Regions from separate parts of the Homo sapiens genome. Here regions 1, 2, 4, 5 and 6 are each linked to region 3. Evidence: promoter capture Hi-C in human tissues and cell types (Jung and others, 2019). All regions are on one chromosome and are shown on one strand. Each heading gives the region's core, a stretch centred on a gene start or on the middle of the fragment in contact. The rest is flanking DNA. Distances are from core to core; before and after follow the strand shown.

What was found. The method cuts DNA at HindIII sites, captures the fragments that hold promoters and counts their contacts. A contact is called where the count stands out against the background at its distance.
Region 1: a contact is called between the fragment with the promoter of FOXS1 here and the fragment with the promoter of PLAGL2 in region 3, in 1 of the 25 tissues and cell types used here (lymphoblastoid cells).
Region 2: a contact is called between a fragment that was not itself captured here and the fragment with the promoter of PLAGL2 in region 3, in 3 of the 25 tissues and cell types used here (dorsolateral prefrontal cortex, lymphoblastoid cells and mesenchymal stem cells).
Region 4: a fragment that was not itself captured here is called in contact with the fragment with the promoter of PLAGL2 in region 3 in 1 of the 25 tissues and cell types used here (small bowel).
Region 5: the fragment with the promoter of MYLK2 here is called in contact with the fragment with the promoter of PLAGL2 in region 3 in 1 of the 25 tissues and cell types used here (lymphoblastoid cells).
Region 6: a fragment that was not itself captured here is called in contact with the fragment with the promoter of PLAGL2 in region 3 in 1 of the 25 tissues and cell types used here (spleen).

What each region holds. Positions count from the first base shown.
Region 1 is chr20:31,844,304-31,847,277 of GRCh38, reverse strand. FOXS1 (forkhead box S1) reads left to right here and starts at 1,674. Exons shown (of 1, transcript NM_004118.4): 1 at 1,674-2,974. The coding sequence starts at 1,736. The coding sequence ends at 2,728. It also overlaps a transcript of DUSP15 not described here. RefSeq lists an enhancer at 1,733-2,290. The HindIII fragment of the contact is 12,044 bases long and covers 1-2,974 here.
Region 2 is chr20:32,498,010-32,500,709 of GRCh38, reverse strand. All of the region lies in intron 4 of NOL4L (nucleolar protein 4 like), which reads left to right. Among named protein-coding and RNA genes, the nearest start is that of NOL4L-AS1, 62 kb to the left of the region's middle. The HindIII fragment of the contact is 3,583 bases long and covers 1-2,700 here.
Region 3 is chr20:32,206,293-32,208,992 of GRCh38, reverse strand. It overlaps PLAGL2 (PLAG1 like zinc finger 2), which reads left to right and starts at 1,250. Exons shown (of 3, transcript NM_002657.3): 1 at 1,250-1,352. POFUT1 (protein O-fucosyltransferase 1) reads right to left here and starts at 1,113. Exons shown (of 7, transcript NM_015352.2): 1 at 928-1,113. The coding sequence starts at 1,051. RefSeq lists enhancers at 774-903, 366-1,279 and a silencer at 1,044-1,463. The HindIII fragment of the contact is 8,119 bases long and covers 1-2,700 here.
Region 4 is chr20:32,651,640-32,654,606 of GRCh38, reverse strand. It overlaps C20orf203 (chromosome 20 open reading frame 203), which reads left to right. Exons shown (of 6, transcript NM_182584.4): 2 at 2,626-2,874. Among named protein-coding and RNA genes, the nearest start is that of C20orf203, 21 kb to the left of the region's middle. RefSeq lists a silencer at 1,434-1,533 and an enhancer at 1,824-1,873. The HindIII fragment of the contact is 8,874 bases long and covers 1-2,967 here.
Region 5 is chr20:31,817,872-31,820,732 of GRCh38, reverse strand. MYLK2 (myosin light chain kinase 2) reads right to left here and starts at 1,377. Exons shown (of 13, transcript NM_033118.4): 1 at 1,305-1,377; 2 at 1,101-1,200; 3 at 187-607. The coding sequence starts at 1,152. RefSeq lists an enhancer at 352-893. The HindIII fragment of the contact is 11,029 bases long and covers 1-2,861 here.
Region 6 is chr20:31,863,814-31,866,514 of GRCh38, reverse strand. DUSP15 (dual specificity phosphatase 15) reads left to right here. Exons shown (of 7, transcript NM_080611.5): 4 at 1,513-1,562; 5 at 2,534-2,608. Among named protein-coding and RNA genes, the nearest start is that of DUSP15, 5.4 kb to the left of the region's middle. The HindIII fragment of the contact is 6,921 bases long and covers 1-2,701 here.

The DNA of each region.
Region 1 (2,974 bases), core at 425-2,924, 360 kb after region 3:
ACAGAATCCTAGGCTCATATCCAGCTTTGTCACTCACTAGATGTGGGACATCAGGGAATTTACTTACCTTCTCTGAGCCTCAGAGCCCTCATCTATTCAAAAGAAGCAATGAAGCCCTCCAGAGCAGGGTTGGTTGAAGAAGTAAGTGTAGGGTTGGGGAGGTGAGCTGGCCTGGTACAGAGTGGGTGAGCAGTGACTTGGGAGTGGGAGAGCAGAGAGGATGCCGTCCCCTCCTCCAGAAGGCCTGACTGTTCTGGGCCTGACTCTCTGGACCTCCCGACCCCAGGCTGCAGCTGGGGTAGCCTCAGTTCAGAGTGACAATCCGCAGCCATGTTCATATCCCTACTCCATACTAGGCTCTTGATGAGGGTGCTGCATTCTGTGTAAGGGGAACCTGTTGCCTCCCCACCATGGCCTGGACAGCTGAGGAGTCACCAGCTCCATGTTAGAGATGGGGAAACTGAGGCTCAGCCAAGGTCTTGAGGTGCCTCTTGGGAGGGAGAATGTCTCTCCCCAGATAGCTGTCCTTCCCACACCAGTCACTAGGGGGCGACAGGGATGCAGCAGAACTGAATTTCATGGGCTCTCCTTACCATCCTAGGTGCCCCTCCCTGCAGACACCCCAGAGCTAGGAGGATGGGGTAGGAGTGGTGTGGCCCCAAGGCCTCTGCACCGCAGGAGAAGGCAGTAGACCACAGGCCTGGGAGAAGAGGGAAAAGCAGGAGTAGAGGTAGGGATTAGAGAAGCCCCTGGGGCTTCTCTCACTCTAGGGGGACTGGGCTCAGGCCCTGCCTCTCTCTCCTCTCTCTCTCTCTCTCTCTCTCTCTCTCTCTCTATTCATTCCTTTCACTCCTTGTGTTTGCACCTGTGTCTCTCAGTATCTCCTTTCTCTCTGGCTTTGTGGATTTCCTTGTTTCTGCCTGCTCAGTGATTCTCACTTTCTCCGTATACTACGTGTGTGTGTGTGTGTGTGTGTGTGTGTGTCTGTGTCTGTGTCTCTGTGTTTCTGTGTGTGTATGTCTCTGTGTGTCTGTGTATGTGCTTGTGTGTGTGTCTGTGTGTATGCCTATGTGTCTGTGTGTGTCTGTCTCTGTGTATATGTGTGTGTGTGCTTATGTCTGTGTGTGTGTGTCTGTGTGTGTGTCTGTGTCTGTGTGTCTCTGTGTGTCTGTACGTGTATGTCTGTGTGTCTCTGTGTGTCTGTACGTGTATGTCTGTGTGTCTCTCTGTGAGTGTCTGAGAGGCTCTGGGTGTCTCTGTCCGTTGTGTCTGCCTCTGTCTTATCTTTGTCTCTCCCTCTTTCTCCCTCTTGTGATGTCTCTACCTCTCTCTGTCTCTATCTCTTTTTTCCCTGTCTCTGTTTCATATGTTTCTGCCTCTGTCTCATTTTGTTTTTGTCTCTGTCCCGCTCAGTTTCACATCCTGTCCCTCCCCAGCCACCACCACCCAGCACACGTGGGCTGAGGGTCTCAGTCCCTTCCTTCCCAACTCCTCATCCCTGGCAGCTGCTCGGCTTCCCACTACTGGCCTCTCCTGCCCGCCTCTTTTGGGCCTTGTGGGAGTGGGGCGAGGGAGGAGGGGAGGATGGCTCAGCAGACCCACCCCTTTTTGCCTTTCCAGGCTGGGAGGCTGGGCCAGTGGACCTTTTAACCAGCCTGGGCAGGCTATTCCGGACGCCAGCCCTGGAAGCTGAGCCTGACCCAGCAGGTCCCAGCAGCCTGGCAGCCCGGCCAGCATGCAGCAGCAGCCTCTGCCCGGGCCTGGCGCCCCCACAACTGAGCCAACCAAGCCTCCCTACAGCTACATCGCCCTTATTGCTATGGCCATCCAGAGCTCACCGGGGCAGCGGGCCACCCTCAGTGGCATCTACCGCTACATCATGGGCCGATTCGCCTTCTACCGCCACAACCGGCCCGGCTGGCAGAACAGCATCCGCCACAACCTGTCACTCAACGAGTGCTTTGTCAAGGTGCCCCGCGATGACCGCAAGCCAGGCAAGGGCAGCTACTGGACGCTGGACCCTGACTGCCACGACATGTTTGAGCACGGCAGCTTCCTACGCCGCCGCCGCCGCTTCACCCGGCAGACAGGTGCTGAGGGCACCCGGGGCCCCGCCAAGGCACGCCGTGGACCCCTCAGGGCGACCAGCCAGGACCCAGGAGTCCCCAACGCCACGACCGGCAGGCAGTGCTCATTCCCACCAGAGCTGCCAGATCCCAAGGGCCTAAGCTTTGGGGGTCTGGTGGGGGCCATGCCAGCCAGTATGTGCCCAGCAACCACTGATGGCAGGCCTCGGCCACCCATGGAGCCCAAAGAGATTTCCACGCCCAAGCCTGCATGCCCAGGGGAGCTCCCCGTGGCCACCTCATCTTCCTCATGCCCAGCGTTTGGCTTTCCTGCCGGCTTCTCAGAGGCTGAGAGTTTTAATAAGGCCCCTACGCCCGTCTTGTCCCCGGAATCAGGCATCGGGAGCAGCTACCAGTGTCGGCTGCAGGCACTGAATTTTTGCATGGGGGCTGACCCAGGCCTTGAGCACCTCTTGGCCTCAGCAGCCCCCTCCCCTGCACCACCCACCCCTCCAGGCTCACTCCGGGCCCCACTGCCCCTGCCAACTGACCACAAGGAACCCTGGGTTGCAGGTGGCTTCCCTGTCCAGGGAGGCTCCGGCTACCCATTGGGGCTGACCCCCTGCCTATACCGGACGCCAGGAATGTTCTTCTTTGAGTAAAGGCAGCCTCACCTCGGGCAGTCCCTGCAGGTCCCTCACCCTCCGGGCTGAGCCTGGCTCTAGGACCTGAAGAACTCTCGAAGGACCCAGCCCTGGTGAGCCAAGGACAACCACACAGAAAGCCAGGATTGAAGCGGTGCTCAGCCAGGCCCCTGGGGCCTCCGGACAAACTTGGGGGTGAGGGGAAGCAGGGCCTCTTGGGATTTACTCTGTGGCTCTCAGGGCCAATAAAGCCATGTGATGATG
Region 2 (2,700 bases), core at 168-2,667, 290 kb before region 3:
GACTCCAGGCTCATCTTGCATATTTCCTGCCCCAATCCTGGAATCAGTGATTTCTCCAAGGAGCTCTGATTCCTTTTATTGGAAAACCATATTAAAAACCAAAATATCGGATCGAGACCATCCTGGCTAACACGATGAAACCATGTCTCTAGTAAAAAAAAAAAAAAAAAAGAAAGAAATACAAAAAAATTAGCTGGGCGTGGTGGCAGGCGCCTGTACTCCCAGCTACTTGGGAGGCTGAGGCAGAAGAATGGCATGAACCCGGGAGGCGGAGCTTGCAATGAGCCGAGATTGTGCCACTGCACTCCAGCCTGGGCAAGAAAGCAAGACTCCGTCTCAAAAAAAAAAAAAAAAAAATCTGGCTGGGCATGGTGGCTTACACCCATTATCCCAACACTTTGGGAGGCCAAGGCAGAAGGGTCTCTTGAGTTCAGGAGTTCAAGACCAGCCTGGGCAAACCTCATCTCTATATATTTTGTATAAAACAAAACAAAAAAACAAGATCTGGGCACTATGTGTGCCCATTGGTACTGAAGTATCCTTTCTTGCAGGCTCTTCCAGCTGACAGAGCAAAAAGCATACATGTTTTTATTTTCATTTTTTATATTTAATCTTTGATCCATTTGGAGCTTATGCTGACGTATTCTGAGATACAGATTCCGCTTAACCCTTTTGTCTCAGCATCATTTGTTAAATACTCCATTTTCCCCCACTGATTTGAGATGACACCTTTAAAACTTACTAAGTTTCCATCCAAAACAGAATCTACTTCTGTTTGGTCCACTGGGCTCCTTGACTATTCATGTAGCAGCTACCAAACTGTTTTAAGTGTGAAAACTTTATCATATGTTTTAATATCTAGTAGGAATTGTTCCTCTTTTGTTGGCTTTCTTTTTAAAAGTTTTGCTGGCTTGAAAAAAGGCATTACTTTGAAAAAAATAATTGTTCCTTTTTTTTTTTTTTTTTTTTTTGAGACAAGGTCTCCCTCTGTTGCCCAGGCTAGAGTGCAGTCGCAAAATCTTGGCTCACTACAACCTCCGCTGCCCAGGTTCAAGCAATTCTCCTGCCTCAGCTGACTGAGTAGCTGGGACTACAGATGCCTGCCACCATGCCCGGCTAATTTTTGCATTTTTAGTAGAGATGGGGTTTCACCATGTTGGCCAAGCTGGTCTGAAACTCCTGGCCTCAAGTGATCTGCCTGCCTCAGCCTCCCAAAGTGCTGGGATTACAGGCATGAGCCACCACACCCAGCCAAAAATTGTTTCTTTAATGCCTAAAAATGTTTGTATCCGCTTTTTGGTGGAGGAAAAATACTGCAGCAGCACCACTGATCTGACCACATGAGCATTATGTGAAGACACTTTATCCCAGGCCTCTTTGTTCACTGACAAACAGAGGTGGACTGAGAACCAGGAGCACCATGAGCCCAGTGTCAGGATCGGGGGGCTCTAAACATGGACAGCACAGCATTCCCCATCCTCCTAAAATGGTATCATGCAAAATAGGGCATTTATTTAAAAAAAAATTTTTTTTGGCCAGGAGCAGTGGCTCACGCCTGTAATCCCAGCACTTTGGGAGGCCAAGGTGGGCAGATCACAAGGCCAGGAGTTTGAGACCAGCCTGACCAACATGGTGAAGCCCCGTCTCTACTAAAAATACAAAAATTAGCTGGCGTGGTGGCAGGAGCCTGTAATCCCAGGTACTCAGGAGGTTGAGGCAGGAGAATCACTTGAACCTGGGAAGCAGAGGTTGCAGTGAGCTGAGATTGCACCACTGCACTCCAGCCTAGGCAACAGAGCAAGACCAAGACTCTGCCTCAAAAACAAACAAACACAAAAATTTTTTAAGTAGAAACAGTGCTTCACTTTGTTGCCCAGGCTGATCTTGAACTTCTGGGCCTCCCAAAGAAAATAGTGCATTTCTTTTTTTTTTTTTTTTTTTTTATTGAGACAGGGTCTCACTCCCGTTGCCCAGGGTAGAGTGCAGTGGTGCAATCACAGCTCAATGCAGCCTCGACTTCCCAGGCTCTAGTGATCCTCCCACCTCAGCCTCCCGAGTAGCTGGAACTACAGGCACACACCACCACACCTGGCTAATTTTTTGCACTTTTTATAGAGATGGGGCTTCACGTGTTGCCCAGGCTGGTCTTGAACTCCTGGGCTCAAGCGATCCTCCCACTTTGGCCTCCTAAAGTGCTGGAATGACAGGCATGAGCCACCATGCCCTGTGAAAATAGGGCATTTCTAAACTTGAGAGGGAATGATTTATCAGAAAGCTTTTTTTTTTTTTAAGAGAACAGAGAGAGGCGTGAAAAGCTCATTGTCAAACATCTTTTGTTATGGGACATTATTTTTGCAATCAGTATATGTTCTTGAACATCCTGGGGTGCTTTCTAGAAACTTACTACAATTTCCAAATTCTCACAGAAAATGAGCATTTCCTCTGTTTTGTGAGGGCAACCTGAGCTGGGAGAGGTCTGTGTCTTTTCTTTCCTCTCACTTCCCTGAAGCTGTGTGGGAAAGTGGAAAACAGCCACCACCCTGTCTGGAGAGCCAGTGTCTGGTGGGGTTGGCAGATACCCCGAACCTGAACAGCTCATTGTCCCCAGCAGCTCCTTGAGGCTCGAGCCCCTTCCGGGCTGCAGACCTCCACCCCTACAAATGCGAGAATGCCAAGGTGGCCTTTCAACTTTATTATCTG
Region 3 (2,700 bases), core at 1-2,500:
AATGATGATCCACCATACCCATTTCAACTGTGCACCTGGCATGGTCTTTAGATTCTCCCCTACCCTGCTCTCTTTATTTTCCCTTAGTATTCATCATCCTCTATGAAACTATGTATTTATTGTTTTATGTTTACCCCTTTTTGGGTTTGCTTGTTTCGAGACAGGGTCTCACTCTGTCACCCAGGCTGGCAGTGCGGTGGCACGATCAGAGCTCACTGCAGCCTCGAATTCCTCGGCTCAAGAGATCCTCCCACCTCAGCCTCCCAAGTAGCCGCCCAGATAACTCCCAAGGGACTACAAGCACACGATACCACGCTCTGCTTTTTTTTTTTTTTTTTTTTTTTGAGATTGGATTTTCACTATGTTGCCTAGGCTGATCTCGAGCTCCTGGCTTCAAGTGATCCTGCCTCGGTCTCTCAAAGTGGTGGGATTACAGAAGTGAGCCACCGCGCCTGGCCTACTTATTCTCAATTGTTTGTCTTCCCCAACTAAAATGAAGGCTCTACAAGGACACGGAGTTTATCTTATTCACTGCGGTATTCCCAGTACAGAGAACAGGGCCCGGCACAGAATAGGTGCCCCATAAATATTTGCTGAATCAATGAAAAATCACCAGGAGCCAGCGTGGGTCAGTGACATCAAGTCCTGCCCCACTAACTCCATTTACTGGACCCTGGACTGGCTTAGACCTCAAGCAAGTCACGTAACCTCTCCCAGCCTCAGTTTTCTCATCTGTCAAATGGAAAGTTGGACACGTTGGCCCCTCTGTGCCCTTGCAACTAAGGCAGAGAGGAGAAGAGCATGCCCCGTCCCGCTCTGAGGTTCTCTCCTGGACCTGTGAAGGTGTCTCTGGGCGCATCTGAGGAGTGGCTTTTCCTCTCCCGGCCTCAGTTTCTCCATCTGAGCAGAGGGCTTGGGAGGCCTTACCCATGCAGGGGCAGTAGAGCAGGTAACCGGCCGGGTCCCAGGAGCCCGCAGGCATCCCCGGGAGCGGCAGAAGCAGCAGCAGGAAAGACACGCTCAGCGGCCGTGCCCACGCGGCGGCGCCCATGTCGGCCCGGGAACCCGAGCCAGCCGCGGCGCACAGTCGGGGAGGGAAGGAGGGACGCGAGCGCCCGCCCCGCTCCCAGCGGTCCCTGCGCGCCGCCCGCGCACCGCCCCGGCCGCTCTAGCCCGCGGGCGGGCGGGACCATAGAGATCCCGCGGCACCGCCCCCTCCACGACCCGAGCGCCCGCTCGCGCGGCTCCCACAATGCACCGCACAATGGCCCGACCGCCGCCACTACCGGGGCCTGAGGGGGCCTGGCGGAGCCCGAGCGCGGCCCGGCCCGCAGCGTGGGGCCCCGAGCGCGGTGAGTGCCGGCGAGGGCCCCAGGGGACGGCGGGGAGAGGGGCGGGAGGCCGTCTCGCTGCGTCCGCGCGCCCTGTACCCGGAGCGGCGGCGCGCCTCATCTCGGGCCCCTCAGCGCGGTCGCCCACACCCCCGACCCGGGGCCCGGTCTGCGCCAACCCGGCCCCAGATAGGCCCTGGGGTGACGAAAACTCTCCCTGGACCCCATACCTGTGTCTGGGGGACCCGAGGAAGCCACCGGTCCCCTCCCTTCCGAGACCTGGAGACGCAGTCCTGAGGGTCCCCCATTCCCGACCCCTAGGCTCCCTGGAGACCCAGATAAGGCGCTGCTGACCTTACCAGGGACCCGGGTCTGGGGGACGCAGATAAGCTGCACCTGCTCCCTCCCTCCGACACGCCTACCCAGACCCACATAACCCCCTTTCCTGCTCCAGATAGCCCGCTCTGTACCCTGTTTCATTTTCCAGACTTACATAACTCCCTTTGAGGCTTCCCTCAAATATCTGGGTCTGGAGAAGTCGAATAAGCCCCACCTGTAGTTCCCTCCTCAGTGGCCATACTCCCAGGCTTTCGACATCTTCCATCCCGTTACCCATTTTGAGACCCTCTTGAAATTCAGAGGATACACTTCTGACTATCCCCATCCCCCCAGCCTTCCAGCCCTTATAATCCCCCATTTCATTCTTGTGGGGATCCCTTAGAGACCCAGGAAAGTTGCTCATGATTCCTTCCCATCCTCGCTCTTCCTTCCCATCCCAGAGACTCCCTCCAGACTTCTCCCTGGATTTCCTTTGCTTCTCCAGCCCTCATCCACTCCCATCTCTCCCAGGCTCGGGGAATTGAACCTTTCCCACACCACAGTGGGGTGATCTAAAAGTTGGCCTGGGACCAGGCTGTGGCCCACCTTGGTGGGGAGAAAGGGGCCTGTTAGGTGGAGGATATGGGGACACCTGTGTGGGGGAATCGGTGCTTTCACCTGCAAGCTTAGCCTGTCTCCTGGCTTGTGTGTTTTTCCACCTGTCAGCCATGGGACTGTGTGTAGAGTCTGGTCTTGGGTTTCTAACCTTTCTCTCCTAAGGTGAGGCCACCAGATTGGGAGCGGGGGTGTCGAATCACGTTTTCTCCCCATGAAAATGGGGTTGTGATGAGTTGCAGCCATTTGTTCAAGGCCTCCCCAGGAGTGGGAGGCAGCAGGAATCTGAGGAAATAGTGAATCAAAGAGACTCCAAAGAGGGCCCATCTACACTGACAGAAGAATTAGCAGCCTGAGAGTAAATCCAACCCCTGTTAATCCTGTTTGATGTTTCTTGGAATGGTGCAAGTCATTGAGACTCTCCAGCCTCCCTGTA
Region 4 (2,967 bases), core at 412-2,911, 450 kb before region 3:
CCTCCCAAAGTGCTGGGATTACGGACATAAGCTACCACGCCTGGCCCACCATTATTCTTTTTCAGGACTGTTTTAGCTTTTCTGAGTCCCTTAAATTTCCATATGAATTTTAGGATCAGCTTGTCAATTTCTGTAAAGAACCAAGTTGGAATTTTGATGGAGATTGTGTTGAATCTGAAGATCAATTTGGGGAGTCTTGCCATCTTAATGGTATTGGGTCTTTAGATCTATGAACATTGGTATTTTTCCATTTATTTATGGCATCTTTAATTTCTTTAAACAATGTTTTGTAGTTTTCAGATTATAAGTTTTGTACTTCTTTTATTCCTAAGCATTTTATTCTCTTTGATGCTAGTATAAATTGAATTATTTTCATAATTACATTTTTGAAGTGTTCATTGCAAATGTGTAGAAGCTCAATTGATTTTTGTATATTGATCTTGTATCCTGCAACTTTGCCAAACCCAATTATTAGTTATAACTTTTTTTTAGTGGATTCTTTAGGATTTTCTCTTTTTTTTTTTTTCGCTCCATCACCCAGGCTGGAGTGCAGTGGCGTGATCTTGGCTCACTGCAAACTCTGCACCCCAAGTTCAAGCAATTCTTGTGCTTCAGCCTCCTGAGTAGCTGGGGTTACAGGCACACACCACCACGCCTGGCTAATTTTTGTATTTTTAGTGGAGACATGGTTTTGCCTTGCTGGCCAGGCTGGTCTTAAACTCCTGACCTTAGGTGATCCACCTGCCTTGGCCTCCCAAAGTGCTGAGATTACAGGCATGAGCCACTGCTCCCAACCAAGATTTTCTATATATAAGATCATGTCATCTGCAAGTAGGGATAGTTTTACTTCTTCTTTTGCAATCTGGATGACTTTATTTTCTTGCCATTGTACCCAGTACAGTGTTGAATACAAGTCGTGAATTCAACTTTGCCGTAAGAGTGGACATCCTTGTCTTGTTCCTGGTCTTGGGGAAAGCACCCAATCTCTCACCATGAAGTATGATACCAGCTGTAGGAACACTCTTCTTAGAACTCCCCGAAAGATTGGCTGGTTTACACCCTCAGTTCTAGCAGTGTGCAAGCAGGAGGCCTAGTCCCCCATCCCTTGCCAACACAGTAACCCCAGGCTTTAGAGGCAAAGAACCAAGCCTGGGAGGGAAGTGCTGCATGCTATGTCACACAGATACTCAGCGACCTACAGTTCAGCTGTCCATATGCACTGGGAGTGAGCCCTGGACACTCAGCCTTCCCTCCCCTAGGGTGGGATGTCTTGAGACCCCCTAAAAAAAAGCATTGGTACAGAGGAACTTCTGGGTTCTGTTCTTGTATTAGTCACTGGCTGTGCAACTGTAGGCAGGTCACTTCCCTCTGGGCCTTGGTTTTCCCATCTGTGTAGTGGAAAGAGTGGTCCACCTTGAAATCTTCCAACTCTGACCATCTCTGCCCCACCCACCCTTAAATTCACAGTGGCTTCAGCATCCACCACTGCCCAGAGGAGCCACCAGAGGGCGCCCCAGACCATCATTTGGCCCAGCTTGGGTGCAGGGTGCCCTGGGGAGGCTGAGAGCAGCGCCTATTTTCCAGGAGCTGCTGGCTGTGCTTGCACAGACTTCCTGTGGCTAGACCAGCCCGCTCCTCTGGCTGAGCTCTGATCTCCAGGAAGGGAGTGACGGAGGCACCATCCCCAAGGCCAGTGACCTAGCACTCACCCTGCCCGCTTTGGGTTGCCGCCTGAGGCTCAGGCTTTGCAACATCGGGGCCAGCAGCCTTGCATCTCTCAGCCTTGAGAGGCTTCCACCATCTCTGAGAGGGCCTCTCACTGGTGCTGCATCCTCTCCCCACCAAATTGCCCAGCAGCAGGAAGCCCCCCAAACTGGTGCGTGTCTGGCTACCTGGAAGGGGGCCCTCACTGTTTTTTGTGGACGTGAATGTATTCATGCTGGGGGTCTGGACAGTGTAGTCTCCAAAAACCACAGCATCCGGGACTCCTAGATACCTCCAGGATAGATCCCAGAACCTTCGAAGCAGGAATCACAGAGGTCAGGGACCACCCAGAACTTCCCAAAAAAGCCAGAGGAGGCTCCATCAGCACCCCCATGACCCCCAGGGCTGATTTTATCGTTCAAATAAAATCAAAACCTTTGCCTTGCAAATTGAGCTCCAAGACACAGCAGCATCTCCCCGCCATCCCAAGAGTCTCACCCCAGCCCCTTTGCATGGAGGGCTGCTGGGCCCCCTCTGATGCCAGGGGTATTTGCTTTTTTTTTTTTTTTTTTTTTTTTTTGAGATGGAGTCTTGCTCTGTCGCCCAGGCTGAAGTGCATGATCTCAGCTCACTGGCACGATCTCAGTTCACTGTAACCTCTGCCCCACCAGGTTCAAGTGATTCTCGTGCCTCAGTCTCCCAAGTAGTTGGTACTACAGGCGTGCACCACCACACCCAGCTAATTTTTGTATTTTTAGTAGAGACGAGGTTTTGTTGTGTTGGCCAGGCTGGTCTCGAACTCCTGATCTCAAGTGATCCTCCTGCCTAAGCCTCCCAAAGTGACAGGTGTGAGCCACTGCATCCAGCCACATTTGCTTTGCATTCTAGTTATTTGTATGTGTGTTTTCTCTCTCCTTCCAGACTGGGGTCCCCTTAAAGGCAGAGTGAATCTCAGATTCATCTTAGTCCCTTCCTGGGGTCTTGTTCAGGACCCTGCATCCAGTAGATGCTCAACAAATGTCAACATAGGAATCCAGGTCCCATCCTCTCCTCACTCAAGGGATCCAAGGCTGCCTCTTCCTCTTCCGTAGTGGTGTGGCTTTGCAGAAGTCACTTAAGCTCTCTAATCCTCCTCCTCAGAGTGCCAGACTGCAGCTGCCACATGAAGAGGTAAGACTCGGACAGGCTAGGTGCCAGGTCACCCCCCAGTTCCCCAGACCTTTCAGATGGCAGTGGCTGGCTATTCAGGTCAGACCAGTTGCT
Region 5 (2,861 bases), core at 128-2,627, 390 kb after region 3:
AGGGTTCTGGTTTCTGCAGGGGACAAGGCGGTAGAGGCAATTCACAGGACAGAGGAAACTGAATGTCAGAACTACACTCCCCAGCACTGAATGTGATGATAACCATGCCTAAGACAAGGGAATTAAGCAGGACCCCTAGGGACAGAACCACAGGACCCCTCCCCACTCCCAGGAGGGGATATTCACCTGGAGATGATGGCAGGACAGCTGGGGCTATGCAGAAAGGCAGGTGAGCCCCTCCTGGCTGCTGCTTGGCCCTCTGCTGCCTTCTTGCCCACCCTGGGCTTTCCAGGATCCTGGCTGCCTGAGGCTCCCTGCTCAGCCTTGGGCTTCTTGACGCTGGTCTCAGGTGTCGCAGTCTGCTGGGGCAGGGCTGCCGGGGGCCCAGCACTGCCCTCCGCGGGCCCCCCGCCCCTGTCACCCTCTCCTTTGGGGCCTTGGCTGCTAGTTGAGGGTTGGGCCAGGGTACCATCCCCTTTCTCTGAGGCAGGGGCTTTGGCATCTTTCTTCAGGGTGGGTGGATCCGGAGCTTTCTTTGGGTCTGGGGGGCCAGGGTCTTTCCCTGCAGCCAGGGGTCTTTCACCTGTGGGACCTTTAGGTGCCTTGTCTGCAGAGGAGGTGAGACACCCATCAGGATCCACCCTCCTTTCCTTCCCTCTCACCCAGGCTGGGCAGAGACCAGCTCTGGGCCCAGGTTCCCACCCAGGCAACAACTTGCAAATGCTTGTCCCACTGAGTCTCTGGGGCCACTTGATGGCCCCTAGAGATGAGCTGCCACGACCTTGGAGGGCCTCTGTGGGAGGCTTCCAGCCCTTTGGGTGGGCCTTGGTGGCCCCCATCATCCTTGCCCTGACTGTTTAGGTGCATCCCCAGCAGCCATCCCTGGTGGCTTCACATTTTCCTGGTCTCTCCAGGAAGGGCTTCATACAGGCCCTGGACCCAGCCCAACCCTAGCCAGAGATTCCTCTGATTTCTGGGTCCCCCGTGCACCATGCAAACAAGGCTGGGGCACAGAACTCCCACTGAGGAACCTGCCCAGTCCTGGATTCAAAACCCCCCTTCCCAAGCTCCTCCCTCCATCTCCTGCCCCAGCTTGGCACCTGTTGATGGGTTCTGAATTCCCAGCTCAACTGCTCCATTTTCTGTCGCCATGAGGTAGGGAGGCGTGTGCTGCTGCTTGTCTAACTCAAGTCTTTCTAGCTGCAGAAACAAGAGTGGAGTGTGTCAGGCTGTCCAATTTCCCCTCTCGTCTGGCTGCAGTGAGACAGGAAGCCGAGGCCTGCTAACTGAGGGGAGAGAGGTACCTGGAGCAAAGAGGGGCAACCTGGTTGCCGTCTGTCTCCCAGCGGCTGCTCAGGAGCAGTCCTGGGCAGTTGTAAGGGATTGGGCCGGGTGGGCAGAGGCGGAGGCAGGGGTGTGGGCAGTGGAGGCGGGGACGGAGGAGAGGATCTCTTACACCAGGGGCCATGCAGCTGGGACTGCCGCCACCTGTCACTCTTGGCCCCAGTTCAGAGGACACGGCATTCTTCCCATGGCCCGACTGGGGGGAGAATGATGTTGGAACAAGCGAGAAAAGGGAGGGGTATCTGGGACGCTGGGGGAGCAGCCCTTTCCCCAGGCCTTGCTCAGTATCCCTGACTTGGACAGGATCAGAGGGGGCCTGGAAGAAGGGGAGTACTCAGGCAGGCCTGAAGGGCAAGAGTATGCCCAGGCTGAGCCCTGGTCTGCCCACCTGTGTGCCACATCTCCTGGGGCTCCCCAGAACCTGGCTAGAGCCACAAAGTCCCAGGGATAATCTCCCTGACCCTAGTGCCTAGCTCTGTGCCTCGACATCTGGACCTGCTTGCGTCACCTTTGGGTAAGAAATTGTCTCGGGGGCACTTTCTCAACATGTCCATAGGCCTGGAAGCTTTTTCTTTTGAAACTGTCCTTTTCTTGGGCTCCTGGGGACACGGAGGCTGCCCTGAGTAGCCATGGGAGATGGAGAGTGCTCTGTGCCCCTCCCCCAAGCTCATCCAGTTCTCACCCATGACCCACATGGAAGAAGGGGGCTGGCAGAGAGTCTTTTCAAGGATGCTCCACTACAGGGGTGGCCCGAGGGGCACTCTAGCCTGAGGTGTTCGAGATAGGATGAGGACAGCTATGATCCAAGGAGCCTTCCATCACCCAGAGCCTTTCTCAGAGGGGGCTCTTGAGAACTGGCCAGACCTGGGTGCATTAGAAGTAGCTGTAGAGGCCAGAAGCAGTGGTTCACACCTGTAATCCCAACACTTTGGGAAGCTGAGGCAGGAGGATCACTCGAGGCCAGGAGTTGGAGACTGGCCTGGGCAACATAACAAGACCCCGTCTTTATATTTTAAAAAGTAAGATAAAATGAAGTAGCTGTAGAGTGGTTATCCAGGTTCAGGTCCTGACTGCAGCAAACCAGTCACTTCACTCCATGGCCTCGGCTCCTCTGTCAAATGGGAAGCCATTGGAAAAACGCTTGATGAGAGAAAGGAGGGAGAATGCAGCCCCTCTAAGCAGTGGGGAAATAGGAACCTGTAAAAAAAGATTGAGGAAGCTGTTAATGAACTGACAAAAAGTGACCACCAAAGTGGGGGGAATAAAAAAAGCAAGATGCAAAGTAGCATGTAGAGTGTGCTATCCATTTGTGCAAAAAAAAAAGGGAGAATAATATATGAATAATATATATTTCACTTTATGCACATAAGAATTTATTTGGTAGGATAAGCAAGGAACTGGGCCCCAAGGGTGGGAAGGAGACATCACTGTATATACTTTGACTTTTCTGTTTGAACCATGAACTATGTGAACAGGCTACTATTCAAAATGAGTGGGATGTTTTGTTTTGTGAGCAA
Region 6 (2,701 bases), core at 64-2,563, 340 kb after region 3:
AGAGGAAAGTAATAAATCCAGACTACACGTGCTTATGTCAGGAACATCTTCACTGTTTATTTGCTCTATGACCTTGGGGACAGGACTTTGCCCCCTCTGAGCCTCAGTTGCCTGATCTGTAAAACGGGAACTTTATAACAGTACCCACTTCACTGAGTGGTTGGGAACCACATAAATAGATGCTCAACAAATCACAACTGATACTATAACAAATTTAATCATATTCTTATCCCATAAACAGAGCCTCTTCACCCTTATCTATTAGAGTCTGTATCATCCACTGGAGAGAAAGAACCATGGGTGGGAAAAGGTCCTGGAGATCTGAAATGAAGACCCGGTTCTGCCATAGACTTGCTGTGTGATCTTGGCCAAGGTCCTTCCCTTCTCTAGGCCTCAGTTTTCCCATATGTCAGATTTGATATTCTCTAACAGCAACCTCTAATAATCTATGATTTTCAATGTCATTCAGAGAAGAAATTTCCAGGCCATTGCAGTCTTATTTTGCCTCATAGGGCAGCCTCGTTTGGGAGTATTTGGAGTAAACAGTCACTAGAGTGCATGGGGAAGGTTGTCAAGTCATGAGTGTATTTACTAATGAAATGACAGCCTACACAATGAGTCTCTGCTCCTACGGCCCTTCCTGCTTCTCCCAAGCATCTCTCCTTCCCCCCTCCATCAGCAAATTTACCAGGCAGGGTTTGATAGTACCACACAAACCCAAGGCCAAATGTGTTGCAAAGTGAAATTGCAAACCTTGCCAAAGATGCAGGATGTCATGACCTTGGGGAATGTGAGTGAGAGAAGGGCTGGAATCTCACACAAAGCCATGGACAAATGAGAACCTGGCTGGTGGTCCCTTAGTTACTGCCAGTGACGGGCCTGGCCCCTGAAAAGAGCCATTTGAATATAAAAATGTTAAGACAGTTTCTCGAGAAAAGCAAGGAGGTCCTCAGGAGGCGGGCAAAAATAATCTTCATGATATTGTGTGGCTAATCAGGAAACAAAGGACATCACAGCAAGTTTGCTGGAAAAAATTCCTGACAATTTATTCCTTGATTATTCTCATAATCAGCACATCATTTTATAACCATGATTCCTGAAATGTATACTTGTTTTCATGATTTTTGTTTCTTTTCAAGATAATCAAATCTGCTCTACCTTTTTTACGATGTAATTTTGTAATTCCCATTTGGAGTGGAGTCCCTTTAAGTAGCCCTTTCCTAGCTACTTGATAAAGGTTCCTGGGTCCCTGTTGGGAGGGATAGGTGACGTCATGCCCACGCCGCTGATGGGGTTAGGAGACACCATGTGCTTAGAAGGTTCAGGAATCACAAGTGGTCACAGCTGGGAGGCCTCAGAGATGACAACTACTTTCTTTGGACAGAGAGGACCACAGTGGGCCAGAGAAGGGCAGGAACTGGGCTGGGGTTATGCCCTGCCTGGGCAGCTCGGACCAGCATCAGGGAGGGTTGCAGGCAAGGTCCCCTGCCTGAGTGTATTTTGTACTTGCAGGATATCACCTACCTTCGCATCCCGGTCGCTGATACCCCTGAGGTACCCATGTAAGTTCCCCTGGATGGACCCATAGATGGACAGACAGCTGCCTTCTGTGGTGGGGGAGGGGGAGGGGGTTTGAAGGAGGACAAAGTACTCAGGCCAGAGAGCTATCACAGGTGTTCAACTCAACCAGTCCCAGGTTTGACTCTGTCTCAACCATGCCCTTGTGATAGGCCCTTGGCCAAGACTCTCCACCTCCCCGAGCCTCAGTCTCATCAGCTATGAAATGGGAAAAGGACACTCTGTACCTTGGGACCAGCTACACCAGCTGATTTGAAAGGGTCATATTCAGCCTGTTCCTGGCCTTGGGGTTAAGACATCTGAGTTCCGGCCAGGCTCTGCCATTTACTTGCTGTGTGACCTTGAACAAATCACTTCCCCGCTCTGGGCCTCACCTGTAAATCAGGAGTGCATGATCAGAGTCAAGGAGGCTTTCGAAGATCAGATGACACAGGTCAAGGATCTAGGATAGGGCCTGGAGTATAACTGAGCTCAGAAAACGGGATTTTTGTTTGTGGCATCAGCAGTAGTGCCTCCCCGCTTGGGATGGAGCCAAGCAGACAGTGCTGCCCCTTGGGAATCTTGCTCCCAGCCTGCTGCTGCCCATCATTGTGCCCAGGTGCTCTGATTGCAGACCCCAGAGGAGTGGGACCCCTGTGTTTCCTCCCACCCATTTCTCTGAAAGGCCACAATAAACCCAACATGAAAACAGGGTCCACAGGAGGAGTGCTCCTGCCTAGATGGTGAGATTTGTCCTGACTGGTCTCTCTCACTGCCTGAAATGCCACCATTCTTGCTTCACACAAACACACCTCCAGCTCATACTAAGTACTGGCCCATATTCACTGCATGTGCTGGCTGACCTGGGGACCCCAGGGCTCTATGTCCCTTGCTATCCTGTAATTGGGGTGGGGGCGGAACAACTCCTGAGAGGTCTGCCCTGCAGTGCTCCCTACCCTATTGCTTTCTCCTCTAGCAAAAAGCACTTCAAAGAATGTATCAACTTCATCCACTGCTGCCGCCTTAATGGGGGGAACTGCCTTGTGCACTGGTGAGTTAAGCGGAGGGGGATAAGGTGGGGGAGGAAGGAAGTGGCTGTGCCCTCTGCTGAACACACACTCCCCCTGTGGGAAGGTTGGACCTG